3 separate regions of the Homo sapiens genome follow, and all the other regions are linked to region 1. The links are contacts of gene promoters, found by promoter capture Hi-C in blood cells and fetal thymus (Javierre and others, 2016). All regions are on one chromosome and are shown on one strand. The core of a region is centred on a gene start or on the middle of the fragment in contact, and the rest is flanking DNA. Distances in the headings are between cores, read along the strand shown.

Region 1 (4,015 bases), core at 609-3,108:
TGTTCGAGATCAGCCTGGACAACATGGTGAAACCCTGTCTCTACTAAAAATACAAAAATTAGCTGGGTGTGGTGGCGCACACCTGTAGTCCCAAGCTACTAGGGAGGCTGAGGCAGAAGAATCACTTGAACCCAGGAGGCGAAGGTTGCAGTGAGCTGAGATTGTGCCACTGCACTCCAACCTGGGTGACAAAGTGAGACTGTGTCTCAAAACAGCAACAACAAACAAACAAACAAACAAAAACAATGGCAATATCTGTGTGCTGAAGATTCCTACATCTCTAGCTCCAGCCCTAACCCTTCCACTGAGCTCCAGACTGACTATTTGCTGGACAGTTCCACCAGGAACTCCTACAAGTTCTTCAGGGAAACAGGACCAAACTGAACTGGTAATTAATTCTCCCCCACAGGCCTGCTCCTGTGAGTGGGCTCAGTGAATCCCGTACAGAAACCTGAGAATCACCCTGGATTCCTCCCTCTCTCCTCCTCATTTAGTCAAACCCCAGAGTCAATCAGTTCACCCCAGAGTCAATCAGTTCTGTTTTTTTACTCTTTCACCAGTTATTGCCACTGCTTTAGTTCAGGCTCTCATCCCTTTTTATTGCCTGGAATTTTTAATAGTCGCCAACATGGATTCAATGAAGGTAAATGAAGCTAATTTCACATTTTAAAAAAATGAGGTAGTTGGGACACTCGATGAAGCAAATCAAGAGATAAAGTCTCTTGTAATATTTTTTGTAGATAAGACAGGGTGGGGCAGGGGCTGCCTCCAGCTGGTTTATGGTTCCTGCGTGTACACAAGGGGGTCTGTGTGTGGGTACTGGATCTTCCCATCTTCTCCTGGGAGAGAAAGACAGGCACCCAGTGCAGATTCACGGACGTGGTCCGTTGGGCAAGCCTGGGGCTGGCTGGAAGCTGGGGCAGCTGAGGGGGACTTGCCTTCTTGCGTGGTCTGAGTCCAGTTCTGCAGCCCTTTCAAGAACAGAGGTGCAAAGCCGGAGAGAAGCAGCGGCACCAAGGGAGATGTGGAAGGCAGGCTGAAGAAGCAGAGAGAGAGAGGAGAGGACCCTGCCATTCATCTTCCCATCTCCACTGCCTTCGGTTGCCCACTCTGTCCTTCAACTACATTTGGAAATGCAATTTGAGGCTGAGAGGACCCTGGGAGGGCTATGAAGCACAAATTAAAACCAAGACAGTTGTGCCACCACCCCGTTTCTAGCCTCCTGTGACAACTCAGATGAAGAAGGGAGTGTGTGTGGCATTGAGGGAGGGACAACTCTCATTGTGAGAAAAGGAAGCAGTTTTGGCCCTTTAGTCAAAGGTCACTGGGATTTGGGTGGGGGTGGAGTGGGGTGGATCTGAGTGGAAGAAAGAGCAAAAAGGGAGTGAGGAGGTCCTCATGGGTAGCATTTGCTCTCTTCCCGGATGGATGGCAGGCCCTGGGGATTCCCCTTGGAGCGTCCCCTGGATCCCGTGAGTGCTGACTTCCTGCACAGCATCTTTACACCAGGGATGACATCCCCCTTGTTTCTTAGGCTAGGGACCCAAGGGGTAGCTTAGGAAAGGCCTTACCCCAAGAGGTGGGGTGGGAGGGAGAGCACTTGAAATGACGTCTTCCAAACAGGTCTTTGACTGTAACTACCAGGGAGAGGGCCTGGTCTTCTCAAAGGTGTTGGAGGTCATTCCTGTGAGTCCTTTGGAGGTCACAAAACCCAGTAGGGGCAGGCAAGGGGAAAGCTCACCCCTCTTACCTTTTTCCAGAGGTTACAGTTCCTATCACATTGGAATACATGGCCGCTAATCTTCCACAGGGCTGGGCAAGTGGAGATAGTGTGATCTGAGGCAATCCGCCTGAAAACTGGTTCTTTCCTCTAAATCTCGCAGAGGTTCCAGAGGACAGGGTGGGGCAGAGAGCTGGTCAGGAGGGGGAACTGAGGTCAAAGGCTGATGACCAGTTCCCAGGGTTAAGCAAAGTGTAGAGCCCAGTGTTGTTTAATTAGTAGAGAAGTTTTAAAGTTCAATCAGGCCCAGGGAAAGCCTGAGCCACCTCTCTTGCCCACACTCCCTCACTCTTCTCCTCAGCTTTATAGAAAAGGAAAAGGAGAGTATGTTCATACCCTCAAACTTGGTTAGGAAACTAACCAAGGAAACAAACTTGGTTCATACCCACCCTCTCTCATAGTTTTCTTTATGGAGAGAGGGAGAGAGAGAGAGAAATATCTAATTAGAGAAGGCAAAGAGGGACAAGCTGCTACCTTCAGGCATCTGAGTGCCAAGGTGTCCCTGGCACAGACAAGGAAAACACAATGGTTACACCTGTGGCCCACAGAGAGACCCATTCCCCAGCAGCCCTGAAGTGGTGGGACAGGGAGAGAAGAGCAGGGCCTCGGGGTGCATGCCAAGCGCGTTTCTAAGGGGTGTGAGCAGCTGGGAAATACTTAGCAAAACTCTACTGGGGGATCAGGAGACAGAATGCGGGGCAGGTGAAAAACCCACGTACAACTGCTGAAATAAAAACAAACTAAATTATATTTATGTGTATCGTTATTTTTATTAGTTATTGGGGAGATTGGGTAAATTCAAACTAGTGGAGATAAAGGGCAGGTTTGTTTACATTTCCCTCTTCTGAAATAGCCAAAAGCACCATCACAAGGACTGCAGCCACCAAGTTCACAGGGCGCATGTGCCTCCTGCTGTGTGATCAAGGACTCCTTGTAGTTGTTGTTGCAGTCATAGGCATTTTCGAGAGCTCTTCGTTCATGAGAGAGGACATCTCTCCTGAACTGAAGCTGTGTCTAAGTTCTTGGCTGATTCAGACCCTGGATCCTTTGAAGCCCTCCATGTGCAGTGTGAACAGTAGCCGAGAACTGTCCCAAAGGGCCCCAGAATGCCCAGAGGCTCATCTGTCACCCTAGATTAAAGACTATTGAAAAGTCTCCTGTTCAACCACTTGAGTTCAACAAATACACGAGTGCTGCTTGTGCCAGCAGACACTGTTCTTGGGGCTGGGATTCCATTCGGGGGAGACATACAGCAATCACATAAAGAATCAGTATTTTAGGCCAAGCGTGGTGGCTCACACCTGTAATCCCAGCACTTTGGTAGGCTGAGGCAGGTGGATCACCTGAGGTCAGGAGTTCGAGACCGGCCTAGCCAACCTGGTGAAACCCCATCTCTACTAAAAATACAAAAAATAGCTGGGCATGGTGGTGGGCACCTGTAATTCCAGCTACTCAGGAGGCTGAGGCAGGAGAATCACTTGACCCCAGGAGGCAGAGGTTGCAGTGAGCCGAGATCGTGCTATTGCACTCCAGCCTGGGTGACAGAGCAAGACTCCATCTCAAAAAAAAAAAATCAGTATTTAAAAAATAAATATGTAACGTGCCAGTCAGATGTTAATAAGGTCCATAGAGAAAACTATAGCAGGGCAAGGATATAGGAAGCAGTGGGAGGAAGTGGGGAGGGCACCATCTGAGAACACTTGGTAGGAAAGGCCTCCCTTAGGAATCATTGTTAGGAAACCAGAATGAAATGATGGAGGGGGCCATATGAATATCTTTAGGAAGAGCTGTCCAAAGAGAAATCAGAAATACAAAGACCTTGAGGTTTCAGGAACATGCTGTTGAGACCTATTGTTCCAGCTTATAGGAGTTATGAGGTTTGTGTCTTGCCAAGAAGGTCCTTGGGGGAGGGCAGATGAGGGGCCCTGCAAAAATATAGGTGATTTGGTGAACATCGCTGGAAAAGATTAGGATGCAGATACTACCAGGTCAAGGAATTAAGAACTATAACATCAGGGTTTGTGTTTAATTTGTTCATCCAGGCTGGATGCAGTGGCTCACATCTGTAATCCTAGCACTTTGGAAGGCCAAGGCTTGAGGCCAGGAGTTCAAGACCAACTGTGAGACCCCACACACGGTGAGACCCCCATCTCCAGAAAATAATAATAATAAGCTGGGCATGGTGGCATGAGCCTGTAGTCCCAGCTACTCAGGAGGCTGAGGTGGGAGGATCAC
Region 2 (3,853 bases), core at 404-2,903, 480 kb before region 1:
GAACCTGTCAGCATCCAAACCTGTGAAAAAATAAATTTCTATTTCTGTTGTTTAAAACACCTTGTCTATGGTATTTTGTTATGGCAGCCCAAGCCAACTAATACAGTATGCAATCAATTTAAAATTTCTTATTAACAGCTATATTCAATAAAAGTTAATCTACCTCTGAGGAAAGTTTTTTAAAGATTAATAGTTGCTTATGAAAGAAAAACTGTAGTCAATTATTTGTTGCATCCTACCTTTAATATAATGAGACATAAAAGCTTTACCCATGAATGTCATTTAGTGTCCTTTCCTCATTTTCAAAGTAGTTTATTGTTTAGAAAACAGAAAAGAAAACCTAGTACACATCCATAGCTATTTCTCAGGAAACATTCTCAGAAGTAGAATTACTAAGTTAAAGACTATGCATATTTTAAAGCTACTTGATAAATATTTCCCAAGTATCCACCAAAAAGGTTGAACCAATTTACACTCCACAAAGGAGCAGAGAAGAACATCTATTTCCATGTACTCATGCCACCTCTGAATTTCATTTTAAATTTTATGTCTTAGTTTGTTATCTCCCAGAAGCAGACACTGAGACAAGGATTCAAGTGCAGGCAGTTTATCTGAGTAATACAGAAATACAGAGGGATGGATATGGGTAAGAAGTAACCAGAAGCGAAGGCAGCCAATAAAGGGTGCATTACTAAGCCACCTATCACAGTGGGCAACTGGAACTTAATCTTGCAGAGAAACTCTGGGAAATAATACAAAATGCCCCAGCATTATCCCACCTAAAGGGCTAAGGTCTTACATGACAACTCCAAAAGTCATTAAGTGAGGGCTACCATTTTGTTTTGTTTTGTTTTGAGACGGAGTCTTACTCTGTCACCTAGGCTGGAGTGCAGTGGCATGATCTTGGCTCACTGCAACCTCTCCCTCCCGGGTTCAAGCAACTCTCCTGCCTCAGCCTCCTGTGTAGCTGGGATTACAGGCACCTGCCACCACACCTGGCTAATTTTTGTATTTTTAGTAGAGGTGGGGTTTCACCATCTTGGCCAGGCTGGTCTTGAATTCCTGACCTCATGATCCACCTGCCTTGTCCTCCCAAAGTGCTGGGATTACAGGTGTGAGCCACTGCCAAGTGAGGGCTACTTAAGGAAAAGGGCACAGGGCCTTCAGCATTTTTTTTTAAGCCCTCAGGCATGGAGTTGCAAATACTGCCCTTAGAAATCTAATGGGGAGCGCTGAAATGTCCAGAAATGTGTCCCAGCGCTGATGGCATCTGGTACACTTTGTCAACTTGATAGGGATAAAATGATAGGTTTCTGTGTAGTGAAGAATTAACTTAGGGCTTTTGGCTACCGGGAGGTGATCTCTAGGCCCCTGGAATGCCCAGCGTGTTATGAGTATCTTTGTTGGCCTGAGGGCTTTGGCCACCAGTCTAGAGATGTGATTTATGGTGAGGGCTTTGACCCTCTGGACATCAAAGGCTCAGGTGAGCATCACTGGTTGGCAGTATTCTGTATGTATTGTCACACATCGTAACCAGGAGGTAACACAATCCATGACTCTGTAGAGAGAGGAAGATGGGAAGCCCTGTGCATGGACCCCTCCAGGCTCTGCCCTATGTCGCTTCCCTCTGCTGATTTTATTATCTGTGTCCTTTTGCTATAATAAAATTGTAAGCATAATAAAACTGCTTTCCTGAGTACTGTGTGTCATTCTTGTGAATTACCCAACCTGAGGGTGGCCAGACAAGGTCTCTCGGCTTTTTCTTTTTTAAGTACTTTAACTTTGTTAATTTTTTTGTTGTAAATAGCTTATTATTAATTATTTGCTTATTAATTTAGTTTGTAGCTTTAAGTTATTATATAACCAGTTCTATCAGTCTTTTCCTTTACAGCTTTTCTGTACTTACAAAGGTCTTTCTCACTACAAAATTATATAGGCATTCATCTTTATTTTCAAGTTTTTTAGTGTCCTTCTCCCACATTTAACTAATTCCATTTGGAATTTGTTTTCTTGTACTCTTTTAGGTAAAAATCTATTGTTACTTTTTCCCAAACTGATTCTCAATTGACCCAAAACCACCTTTTGCCTCACTGTATTTTTCTTCATTTTTATCACATGCTAAATTCCCACATACACTAGGGTTCATATGTGGTCACTCTATTCTGTTCCATCTATATACAGTCCATCACTCTTGTCTTCAGATTCTGTGGGTTTATAATACATATTAATATCCCATTGCAAACATTTTTCCTACTTATTGTTCCTATTCAAAATATTCTTAGTTTTCTTATTCTTCCATCATAAAATTTTCTGCACCCCAAGAAAATGTTTTACTCAGAACATAAAAGAAAAATTAAAATCACATCATCAATTCCCATCACACCTGCCCCTCCCCAATAAAATCCCACTAGAATTTTTTATTGGAATTGCACTAAACTTAAATATTAATTTGGGAAAATTTGTATACCTACAAAACTGAATCTTTCCATTCAGAAACATGGTATGTCCCCCAGTAAAAACAAATACATTTTTATCCTAGTACTTCTATTTCTTTAATTAAACCCTGACTAAATTAGAGAGTATCTAGGTAGAAGACTCACATTGTCCACCAAAGTCTACCATGGGTTAATTTTGTTTCAAAAACATTAAAACCTATACAACATGAAAAAAATAAATAAATACATTTTATAAATTGTTTTAAGTTGGCATCCTTCATACAGGTCTAGCAAGTTTCTTGTTAACTTCAAGGAAATAGCATTTTTATGGCTCTTAATACACACTGCTCCAGGAAATTTCCACTTCCACCAGCATCATATAAGACTGAATGGGTCCCCCTGAAAATTTGAGCTGATTAAAAAGTATCTCACTGTAGATTTAAAGTGTACTTCTTTGACCACATATATTTATCAGCTGATTGTATTTTTTTCTTTGTGAACTGTATCTTTTGCTTATTTTCTATACTTCGACTTACCAAGTAGAAGTATTTTTCTCAATAGGTCATTTGCCTCTTAATTTTATTATATTTTCTGATATATAGAATTAAAAAGCTTTCCATACTGGCAAATCTCTTCTTTGTGGTTTCTTCAGTGGCATTTATGCTTAGTGAGTCTTACAATTCAAAGATCATGTAATATTTGTGTATATTTTCTTCTATTTATTTATATGTTCTACTTGTTTTATATCTCATGCTTAAGGTCTGAAGAAAGCTGAAAGATCAGTCTTATCCAAGCTCATGTGTAACACAGACTGAGTAAAAGTCCAAGGTCATCTGCCTCCAAGTTCAGAGCTCTTTGCACAACTTTCATTTAGCATGTATCTTCATGTACCCACCATGTGGCAAATAAATGAGGCTTCAGAGAGTAACATAAAGCACAACCCTCATCTAAAGAAGTTAAATAATTGCACCTATAAAACAATCTGAGACTGCCCCACCCCATCAATACAAGCTGAGTGAGTGACAAGCTACGTGCAGAGAGAGAGGAGAGCTCTGTATGCCAACGGCCAGAAGCTGTCATGGAAGGTAGATCTGAGTTCTGCAGATCCAGTCCTGGAGGAGTAGATTGAGTTCACTGTATCCCAGCTGAGCATATCTCTTCAACTTTCACTGATGAAGACATTTCAGAACAAAGAGCTTCTTTCCTAATCAACCACACAATGTACATGCAAATGTCTTACATTGTTACAGTCAGCAGAACTCCTCGCTCCAATTATTTCATGATCAGTCTTGTTTCTTTCTTCTGTTCTGCTATTTACTACCTATAATGGTCAATTCCTAATGACTCAGCAGCACACAAAATGTTTCTTCTCCAGAATCCCCAACATCTCAAAATTAGACTCTGCCATAGTGAGCACA
Region 3 (4,206 bases), core at 1,411-3,910, 500 kb before region 1:
ATGACAGGAGGAAAGGGGGACAAGCCAACGTGTGAATTGCAGTTAGGTCCTCAACTCACCTTATGTTCAGTTCTCATCGTAAACCCACAGGATAGGTATTGTACTAGTGTGCTCAGGCTGCCATCACAAAGTACCACAGACTGGAGGGCTTAAACCACAGACATTTTTATTTTCTCACAGTTCTGGAAGTAAGAAGTCTAAGGTCAAGATGCCAGAAAATTCTGTTTCTGGTAAAACCTCCCTTCCTAGCTTGCAGACGGCCACCTTCTCACTGTGTCTTTGCATGGCCTTTCCTCTGTGTGTGCACAGAGGAAAAGATCTCTGGTATCTCTTCCTCTTCTTACAAGGACACCAGATTAGGGCCCCACCTTCTATGACCTCATTTAACCGTTACCTTCTTGGAGGCCCTGTTTCCAAATACAGTCATACTGCAGGTTAAGTCAATAAATGAATTATTGGGGGACGCAATTCAATCTGTAACAAGTATTGTCTCAATATTGCAAACAAGAAACATGAGGTTAAAGTTCTTGTCCAAGATCTAGATAAAGCCTTGGCACTTTTCAGTCTGCTTATGGTTTTCAGTCTTTCTTATCAAATCTTGGAAATTCAAGCTTCAAAGTATGAAGTAGAAGAAAAGTATGGTGTATCATAGAGCAGTGAGAAATGAATGAACCTGAGATGAAGCCAGTGTGACTGTCTGCCAGTCAGCCCTGGAGCGAGGGGATGGAATAACCCAGATATATCCACTGGCTCCTCTCCAAGCTTCAGCCATGCCATGGCTGGCACATCACTGCCTCGTAGCAGCTTGGGTCCTGTGTTTGGGTCCTGACTCTCATATGACTTTGTGAGTGCTGGCAAAGACTCCCTCCTTGACCAAACTTTAGTCGGGTTCCCTGAAGCCTTCTTCTCAACTAGGCCTTGCCCTTGACCTGATGAGCCAAGTTTTAGCAATGAATCTTGTTAAGTCCATTTACTGAGATTCTCTCACCCTCAACATCCAATCAAGCTCCTCTTCCTCCACCTAATCAAGTTCCTGTTAGTAATTTTCCATCCACTCCCCCAGCGTGCTGATTGGCTGTAAATCCCCCCTTATCCCTGATGTATTTGGGTTTCAATCCTCTCACCTATTGCAATAATCTTGACCCTTACTGCAATAGCCTTGAATAAAGTGTTCGTTGCTGTTTTTCACAGATATCAGGATAATTTTTCTTTAACAGTTTATTAGGGGCAAGACCACGTCTCACATTTCTCCTTACATATCTCCCCAACACATAGTTGTGCCTCAGCTGGTGCACTGTCAAGAGGCAAGTGAGTGGGTGGGAGGATGGGTGACACCTGAAAGTCCCATGGCCTAGCTACAGAGAAAAGTCAAAGAGCACCTTGAAGCCTATGAAGAATGGACAGTGGGATGAGCCTTAGGAAAAGGAAGATAGAAGAGAATAAAGGGAAGAAAACAGAGGGTTCCTAGCAGCATGTCAGACTCAATCGGAACCACCCTTACACTATCAATTTGGGACACTCCAGGAGCAAAGGGCCCCAGTCTTGATGGCCTGAGGGCCCCAAGTCCAAGGGGCAGCACTTGGCAGAGGGACAAACACTGGATAATTATCCTGGCCCTGACTTTGGTGTTCTCAGCTCTGCGACGTTAGGCAAATCAGCTAACCTCTGTGACCCTCAGCCTTTCCATGCATGAAATGACAGTAACAATGGCTCCCTCACAGGTGCAAGTAAGAATGTAAGTGAAACAATTTGTTTTCTTTTTTAGTATGCTTGATATTTACTGAGAAGAATGCAAATGCTCTTTCTAACTGGTATTCAGGAGCTGGGTTGAGGGCCTGTTTTTGTTTGTCTGTTTTGTTCATAGTATTTTTGCCTAAATGTGCGTATCTGTGGGACTGATGAAATTATGAAAGAAAAATGACAGCTGTGCAAAACTGGTGCATGGAAGAAAAGGAATGTCATGATGTGGGACTGCCAGGTCCACCGGGCCTCTGCAGCAAACCGATGGGGCAGGGAGTAGGTTGGGAGCCAACCAGGCCAGAAGATTGGCTCCTTTGGGAGTTGGTGAGCTGTCCAAATCAATGCCCAGGGAGGTAGAGCCAACCCAGGCTCTCCTAGGTTGGTCCTTGTCTCTAAAGGCAGGGTCTGTCGGTGAGATGTGGTGGGTGGTGATAGTGTAGCTCTCTGGGCACATGTAGGCTAAGCAGTGGCAGCAGCTGGGCTGTGGGTGGTCTGCCCAATATGTCACAGATCTCTGGCCTACAGCTGGGGCTCAGAACATGGTCCAAATTTGCAAAGGAGACATCCTGGGCTGGCCTGAGTAGGCAGCAGCGTGGCTTAAAGCAAGTCCCCTGCCCAGAGGCAGGCAAATGGAGCATCTTCCTGAACAAAGACAAGCACTACAGAGGGATGACGGAGAGAACCAGAGGGCAGAGGAGAGGGAAGGGGACCAAAGGGGCACCTGTGGAGGGTGGGCAGTGGCAGCTTACAGGGCCCTCCCCAACAGGGCCCAAGGGTCTCCCAGCCCAGTAACAATATCTTCATTATCATCCTGGCCAAAACATTGCTTCCTTTCACTGAGGACATTATAAATGTTATTTTTTTATTTTTATTTATTTATTTATTTATTTATTTTTTGAGAGAGAGAGAGAAGATCTCACTCTGTTGCCCAGGCTGGAGTGCAGTGATGTCATTTTGGCTCACTGCAACCTCAGCCTCCTGAATTGCTGGGACCACAGATGTGCGCCAGCATGCCCGGCTAATTTTTGTATTTTTAGTAGAGACAGGGTTTCGCCATGTTGCCTAGGCTGATCTCAAACTCCTGGACTCAAGCGATCCACCCGCCTCGGCCTCCCAAAGTGCTGGGATTACAGTTGTGAGCCATTGTGGCCGGCCACAAATGTTATTTTTAAAGCACACACACATTCCTGGTGGAAGGTAAGTATCCTCAGCACCCATTTCCTGAAACGTCTTTTAATCATCACAATATGGAGATTGTATTATTATCTCTATTTTAAAGACAGGGCAGTATTTTCCTGGGGCAGTATTTCCCAAATTGTGTCCCACGGAATGCTAATAACAGTACTAAGAGGTAAGTGGTGCTCACTTTTGAAAATGCTCCTATAGCCAAATATTTTTGAGAAATAATGCAGAGGAATGGTGCATTTGTGAGCATAGACCCAGGAGTCAGAGACACCTCGGTTTGGGGCCGAGCCCCACTGATTATCAGCTTTGCGGGTGCAGCAATAATAATCCTAGCTTCCTTATCTGGGATGTGGGAATAATGAAATACCCGCTTCATAAGGTTCGTGTGAGGGTTGATGTTATGAGGTAACAAATGTAAAGCTCTTAGCACATAGCTGGTGCAAAAAAAGTCTTCAATAAACAAGAACTCTTATTGGCATTGTAGCAGGTTAAATATTGTTAACATCTTACAGCTAGACCTATAATTTTTTTAGGGAGAGATCAATTTTGTTTAGGAAAACATCTTAATAAACCACGTGGAAGCGTGGCCAGCAATGAGACTCTGAAGTTACAAGCCATCAATAACCAAGACCAAAACCTAGAAAACCAAGTTTGAAAAAGCCAGAGTCCCATAGAGGGTGAGTACTGATTTCTCTCATTGCCTGACATTATAACAAAGAGGTTCAGGGCACAAAGATGAGATCTCACCTCCGTCTTCACCTCCCTCTTTTTAGTACTACTCCATCCTTTACAGATTCACCTACACACACTCACACATGCACACACACCACTCCCTTTTCAGGAAGAAAGCTACAGGCTCCAGTTAATTAGAAATTCTACTATTTCAGCTTTATTACTTCCTCTTTACTCTCTGAACTTTAAAGGAACACATTTCTGTAAAGTTTAAATTATTTCAATGAGGTGTATTACCTTTTTAACTGGGGGTGGGAGGGAAGCACTTTTTTTTTCTTTTTTTTTTTTTTAATGTTGAAGACTCCACTCAGTCATTTGAGCTCCAGGAAGCCTTCCCTGGCCACCCATAAGTTAAGAGAAGAGCCCCTCTTCTGAGCTCCCAGAGCACCCACTTCATACCTATGCTATAGAACACACCGCCAAGGACGGAAATTATCCAAAGGTTTGTGTCCATTGATTGCCATGCCAGGCATCCAGCTCTGCTGAAGCACGCAGGGGCCCTGACTTCCTCATTAGGTATTCTCAACACCTCCACCAGCAGCTGGTAGG

What was found. Contacts are between HindIII fragments. The CHiCAGO score rates a contact against its expected background, and 5 or more counts as called.
Region 2: a fragment that was not itself captured here is called in contact with the fragment with the promoter of SERPINC1 in region 1 in 2 of 17 cell types (endothelial precursors and megakaryocytes); the score reaches 6.3 in endothelial precursors.
Region 3: a fragment that was not itself captured here is called in contact with the fragment with the promoter of SERPINC1 in region 1 in 2 of 17 cell types (erythroblasts and endothelial precursors); the score reaches 6.0 in erythroblasts.

Annotation. Positions count from the first base shown.
Region 1 is chr1:173,915,469-173,919,483 of GRCh38, forward strand. SERPINC1 (serpin family C member 1) reads right to left here and starts at 1,859. Exons shown (of 7, transcript NM_000488.4): 1 at 1,751-1,859. The coding sequence starts at 1,791. LOC124904457 (a long non-coding RNA gene) reads left to right here and starts at 1,032. Exons shown (of 2, transcript XR_007066739.1): 1 at 1,032-1,472. The HindIII fragment of the contact is 6,307 bases long and covers 1-4,015 here.
Region 2 is chr1:173,435,574-173,439,426 of GRCh38, forward strand. All of the region lies in intron 1 of PRDX6-AS1 (PRDX6 antisense RNA 1), which reads right to left. All of the region lies in intron 2 of LOC100506023 (a long non-coding RNA gene), which reads right to left. It also overlaps a transcript of TNFSF4 not described here. Among named protein-coding and RNA genes, the nearest start is that of PRDX6-AS1, 24 kb to the right of the region's middle. The HindIII fragment of the contact is 2,784 bases long and covers 262-3,045 here.
Region 3 is chr1:173,414,002-173,418,207 of GRCh38, forward strand. It overlaps PRDX6-AS1 (PRDX6 antisense RNA 1), which reads right to left. Exons shown (of 2, transcript NR_125960.1): 2 at 3,788-4,206. The region is part of intron 2 of LOC100506023 (a long non-coding RNA gene); the gene reads right to left. It also overlaps a transcript of TNFSF4 not described here. Among named protein-coding and RNA genes, the nearest start is that of PRDX6-AS1, 45 kb to the right of the region's middle. RefSeq lists enhancers at 433-592, 653-702, 2,163-2,292, 2,323-2,372, 4,181-4,206. The HindIII fragment of the contact is 3,801 bases long and covers 761-4,206 here.